Regions from separate parts of the Homo sapiens genome. Here region 1 is linked to region 2. The links are contacts of gene promoters, found by promoter capture Hi-C in human tissues and cell types (Jung and others, 2019). All regions are on one chromosome and are shown on one strand. Each heading gives the region's core, a stretch centred on a gene start or on the middle of the fragment in contact. The rest is flanking DNA. Distances are from core to core; before and after follow the strand shown. Region 1 holds the start of ALOX12B (arachidonate 12-lipoxygenase, 12R type). Region 2 holds the start of SLC16A13 (solute carrier family 16 member 13).

Region 1 (2,700 bases), core at 45-2,544, 1.1 Mb before region 2:
AAAGGATAACACATAATGAAATGAATGAAGTACCCTAGACGCCCCTCAGATCAAGATAAGAACACCTCCAGCAGCCTATATGGCCTCCCTCTGCCAGGGATACTCACCAGTAGAGGTTGTCTGAGAATTGCTCAGTTTTGCTGGTTCTGGAAGTTCCTATCAATGGATAACAGAACGTATCCCCTTTAATGTCTGGCTCTTTTTGCTCAGTATCATCTTTGTGAGACTCATCCGCATTGCAGTTCATTCTTTTTATTCCTGGGTAGAATTCTATTTTATGATTATACCACAAAATATTGATCATATTAATCCATTATTTAACTTAATTCTTTTGTCTTTTTTTTTTGGAGACGGAGTCTTGCTCTGTTGCCCAGGCTGGAGTGCGGTGGCACGATCTCAACTCACTGCAACTTCCGCCTCCTGAGTTCAAGCGATTCTCCTGCCTCAGCCTCCCAAGTAGCTGGGACTACAGGCGCATGCCACCACGCCTGGCTAATTTTTGTATTTTTAGTAGAGACAAGGTTTCACCATGTTGGCCAGGCTGGTCTCGAACTCTTGAGCTCAGGTGACCCACCTGCCTTGGCTTTCTAAAGTGCTGGGATTACAGGCGTGAGCCACCACGCCCAGCTATTTAACTTAATTCTTATGCCCCAGATTTCACTCTGTCTTCTAATTTAGTTTTTTTTTTTTTTTTTTTGGGCTTCTGATTTTATATCCAACTCCAATCCCTCACCAGTGGATCCTGGCCCCACAGGAAGCAACAGATCCCCTTCTCCTACCCTGATCGTTCCTCCCCGCAGCATCTTCAGGCCTTTGGGCACCCATGTGGTCCCCGAGCCCTAGCTTCAACACCTCCCACCCTTCCAGTCACAGACTCTGGGCCCTGGGGCAGAAGGACAGGCCAGCTTTCTCACTGTGGCCACTACCTGTCCCATTTCCCAGAGAGGAATGGCCTGGAGGCTGGCCAGCTGCGCTGCCACTTAGTGCCCCTCCCCCTCCCCTCCCCCGCCCACCAGTGGCCTCAGAACCAATGCAAGTCACTCACTGCCCATGGCCCTGCTTAGTAGGGGTGCCTGGCACTGTAGCCAATGGGGACTGGCAGGAGGAAGGAGCTTATTAGTCTGATAAAGATCTGGGGACCACACCCTGCCCCCTCCCGCAACTTCCCTAGGGCCCTGGCTCAGGCTGGACTGGCTCCCCCACCCTGAAGGCGCCTTCATCCACGGCATCTTCTATCCGCCCTTTCAGAGGCAGGCCCAGTGCCCTGCCTGCTCTTCCTCCCCACCAGCTCCCAGAAGGCTTGGAGCCCAGACACCTGCTCACTCACCACCAGCTGGGCTCCGCCTGGGCCTGCCCGGCACCCACCCCGGCCACCAAGGGCAGCAGCTTTTCCAGAATTTGGCTGGCAGGCCTAGTCACCCCACCTCGCCACCTCACCACTGCACCTCGGAGGCCAGCCCTGTCCACTCCACTCTGTGCCTGGCTTCTCTTGCCTGCCTTGGGCCTTCGTGTGGCCCCTCCACGGTGTCTGGGACTGAGTGCCCCTCTTGCCTCCTGAAGAGCAGCCATGGCCACCTACAAAGTCAGGGTGGCCACAGGCACCGACCTCTTGTCGGGAACACGGGACTCCATCTCACTGACCATTGTGGGGACACAAGGAGAGAGCCATAAGCAGCTGCTGAACCACTTTGGGAGAGACTTTGCAACTGGGGCGGTAAGAGTGTGTGTGTGTGTGTGTGTGTGTGTGTGTCTGTGTGTGTGTGTGTGTGTGTCTGTGTGTGTCTGTGTGTGTCTGTGTGTCTTTGTGGCCCCGGGAGGGGTGAAGGTGCGCAGGGGGAGCCAGGTGAGCTGAGCTTGGCGAGGAGAGGCTGGAGAGCTGAGGCACAGCTCCGAAGGCAGTGGGCTCCCCAGTGGCTCTACACGCCTTGTCCAGAGCTGGCTTCCAGCCCCTCGCCCATGTCCCAGATCTCTGGGCCATCCTTCTCCATCCTGCTCCTTCATCTCTAACCCTTTCAGGCATTCCTCATCTCCCTCCCCATCCTTTTCTTCTCTCTCCCTCTTCCTCAGCCCTCTCTCCCTGTCTCTGCCTATCCTGCATCTCTCTTTTCTCAATCCTTTCCACCTGCTTTCCTTCCCCTTTGCTCTCCTCCCCTTTCTGTCTTACCCCCTCTCCCGCATCCCTCTCTCTTCCATTCTCAGTCACTCTTCCTAATTCAGCTGCCTCCTAACTGTCTCACATTTGCACTGGATTCTCTGTGACTTAAAATGGCATCAGACCAGCCTGTCCAGTGGAAGGCACGCTTTGCGGGTCCTCAGACCTGATTTTCAGTCAGACCCAGCCACCTGCTGCTAGGCGACCTTAATAGGTCACTCTATCTATGTGGCCATTCTGAATATCTGCATCTTCATTGATGAATGGGAGAAGGGGCTGGCTGGGCCTCTCCCCACTCGAAAACTGTAGAGTGGTACCCAAGTCCCCAGGGGTCTGAAGGGTTCCTGCAACCTCAGGTGCCTGGAGAGGGGAGTGGGAGAAGACAGGAGCTGGGGATGGAGAGAAGGAGGGGCTGGAGTCCTACATAGCCCTGGGTAGAGGAATCCAGTAGGAGACCCCCAAGCTGGAGAAGTCAGAAGGAAGCTCAATGATCAGGTCAATATCCTGTCCCTCCGTCAGTCCAGGGAGGTGAGCATTGCGCAGCATGA
Region 2 (2,733 bases), core at 24-2,523:
TCACTGCAACCTCCGCCTCCCGGGTTCAAGCGATTCTCCTGCCTCAGCCTCCCGAGTAACTGGGATTAGCGCCACCAGGCCCGGCTAATTTTTGTATTTTTGTAGAGACGGGGTTTCACCATGTTGGCCAGGCTGGTCTCAAACTCCTGACCTCGTGATCCACCCGCCTCGGCTTCCCAAAGTGCTGGGATTACAGGCGTGAGCCACCGTGCCCGGCCAGGTTTCATCATCCTTGAATTTCCTAATTCCTCACCATGTTTGTCGCTTTAGTCATTCCTATTAAGAATTCCCTTCTGGGTACAGGTGCTAGCTAAACTTTCCCTCAGCTTCTCCCCGAACCCTTTGGAAGGAGCAGGAAGGAGGTGAACATCCAACGATCTAAGCATTTGACTCTCCTGCCCTTGTGCAGGCTCTCACCTGACAGCAACCCAATACTCAGGTATAGGTGGGTCAAGGAAGTAGCAAAAGAGGCGAGCAGCATCCCCAGCGCAGCCAAGATGCCTCCAGTCATCACCACGGGCCTGGGCCCGAACTTCGTGCTCAGGGCACTGCCTACCGGGCCTGAGGAAGTGGAAGGGGCGCTGCGAGAAGATCTCAGGGGTCTCCCCCCCAGCATCTCCCGCCCCTCGCCCTTCCACTTCCCAGTCGCCGCATTCCCTCTCCCTTCCGAGGGTCGCAGTCCGCCAGATCCAGGCGCCGCACTCACTCCCAAACTGCTGCACCGCGATTCCTATGGAGGCGATCCAGGAGACGCGCGCTGCCTGCTCCTCAAACGCCGCCACAAACTCCACGAAGAAGACCCCAAAGGAGCGGAGCACCCCAAACACAAGCGCCGACTGGAAGAACGCTGAGAGCACCACCACCCATCCCCAGCCCCCGTCGGGGGGCTCTGTCCTGCGCGCCATCTAAGCGGTAACAGGGCTGCTGCCACCCAGAGCCTCTGCAGGAGCCGGGTTCTGGACGCCGCACCTCTGCACACCCACCCCCGCTGCCGGGTGGCTCGGGGCCGAGAGGGGTTGGAGAGGCAGGTAGAGAGGAAGGGCCCGACGAGGCGGCGAGAGGCCCCTGCACCTTTTCCCAAGGCGGGGCGATATAGGACTGAAGACCTGGCCCGCGCTGGCCGGGCCAGAGTCTCCCGGGGGCGTGGTTCCGCGAGCTCGGAGCTGAGCTAGTTCAAGCCGGGGCCGGATCGGTCCCGGTTCGGTGTTCGGCTGGGAGCCAGAGGGTGGAACTGAGTTTGGGCCCCACCCCTGGAGCGCGCCAGTTTCCGTGTAGATGATCTATTTTATCACTGGGGTGTCCGGGCCGGGCCACCCTGGAGCTCGCCAATGAGGACGCGGGGCTCCCGGGCAGGGGCGGAACGAGAAGGGCAGGGCGGGATTTAGGCATTGTTGGGGACCAGCAGTGAATGGGCGCATGCGTAAGGAGGGGCGTTAGGAGGCTGACTAGGTAGGGCCCCACGTGACGCGGGGACTGCCAGGAAGCTTCCGTCTCCTCTTCACCTAGCGGGCCAAGTCATCCCCGTTTCAGCACCCAGAGCCACACGGAAGGGTTAGTGGTGGGTAAACTGGGTCTGGAGAGGAGAGGACTCTCTTGCTTTAATGAGGGGTCCAGGAATTGCAAGGCCCTGTTGGGGGTAGGGGAGGGGTTAGGAGATGAGACTCAAACGAAGTGTTTGGCGCAGCGCCTGAAGCCACTAACACGCAGCCCTAGGCACGCAGACCTAGAAGCCTGGATCCCTGAGAAGTTCAACGGCTAAGGGAAGAGAGAAGGGGAATGAGTTGGACTCCTGGCGTTCATTTCTGTAGTGGGAACTCGTTCCTGTCACTTCTGTTCCCACTAACAGGAAACCTACAGGTCACAGAGACCAAAAATAACTGAGGAGAGGAAGGGCGGCTGTAAGCTCACACAGGGCCCCACCAACACCACCTACCTCTTCCTCACTGGGGCTGGAACCTTTTCCTCTGCCCTCTAGTAACAACCACTTCCTAACCACCTTTTTTGATCTGATGGTGGGGTAGACTAAAGAGACAAACTATGACCCTGGCCACTGGAGCAGTCAGCCCCCTCTTACCCAAGTAGTCCTCAGGCCCCTAGCAAACACTCCCCAGTCCTTCCCAGTCTCCATAACACCAATGGCTTGGATTTCCTGTTCCTTCATTATAAGCCATACTTCCCAGGACCCTGACCTTGAAACCGTGGACTCAATGTTCACTCCCAGATTACTGGGGAAAGCAGCAAACAAGAAGTGGAGGCAGGGAGGGAGGTGTGTAGTCTTAAAAGACATATTGAGCCTTAAATAATTTTATATGTGGGAAATAAAAGTAATCATCAATAATACACATATATACTTTCTAAGAGTCAAAATGTCGGCTGGTGGGGAATATGCCAAAGATACAGAAATTGCTGTGGCTGTATTACATAGTGATTAAGAACTCGGGTCTTTAGAATCAGATCACAGTTCCAGTCTTTTATTTATTTATTTATTTATTTATTTATTTATTTATTTATTTATTTTGAGATGGAGTCTTGCTCTGTGGCCCAGGCTGGAGTGCAGTGGCATGATCTTGGCTCACTGCAACCTCCACCTCCCGGGTTCAAGTGATTCTCCTGCCTCAGTCTCCTGAGTTTCTGGGATTACAGGCTCCCACCACAACGCCCAGTTAATTTTGGTATTTTTAGTAGAGACGAGGTCTCACCATGTTGGCCACGCTGGTCTCGAACTCCTGACCT

The links. Contacts are between HindIII fragments. The study calls those that stand out against the background at their distance.
Region 1: a contact is called between the fragment with the promoter of ALOX12B here and the fragment with the promoter of SLC16A13 in region 2, in 1 of the 25 tissues and cell types used here (heart right ventricle).

Annotation. Positions count from the first base shown.
Region 1 is chr17:8,086,310-8,089,009 of GRCh38, reverse strand. ALOX12B (arachidonate 12-lipoxygenase, 12R type) reads left to right here and starts at 1,294. Exons shown (of 15, transcript NM_001139.3): 1 at 1,294-1,714. The coding sequence starts at 1,568. MIR4314 (microRNA 4314) reads right to left here and starts at 954; the gene lies at 863-954. RefSeq lists an enhancer at 1,518-2,266. The HindIII fragment of the contact is 32,393 bases long and covers 1-2,700 here.
Region 2 is chr17:7,034,555-7,037,287 of GRCh38, reverse strand. It overlaps SLC16A13 (solute carrier family 16 member 13), which reads right to left and starts at 1,273. Exons shown (of 4, transcript NM_201566.3): 1 at 707-1,273; 2 at 418-561. The coding sequence starts at 905. RefSeq lists enhancers at 706-945, 1,676-1,725, 1,334-1,834. The HindIII fragment of the contact is 7,914 bases long and covers 1-2,733 here.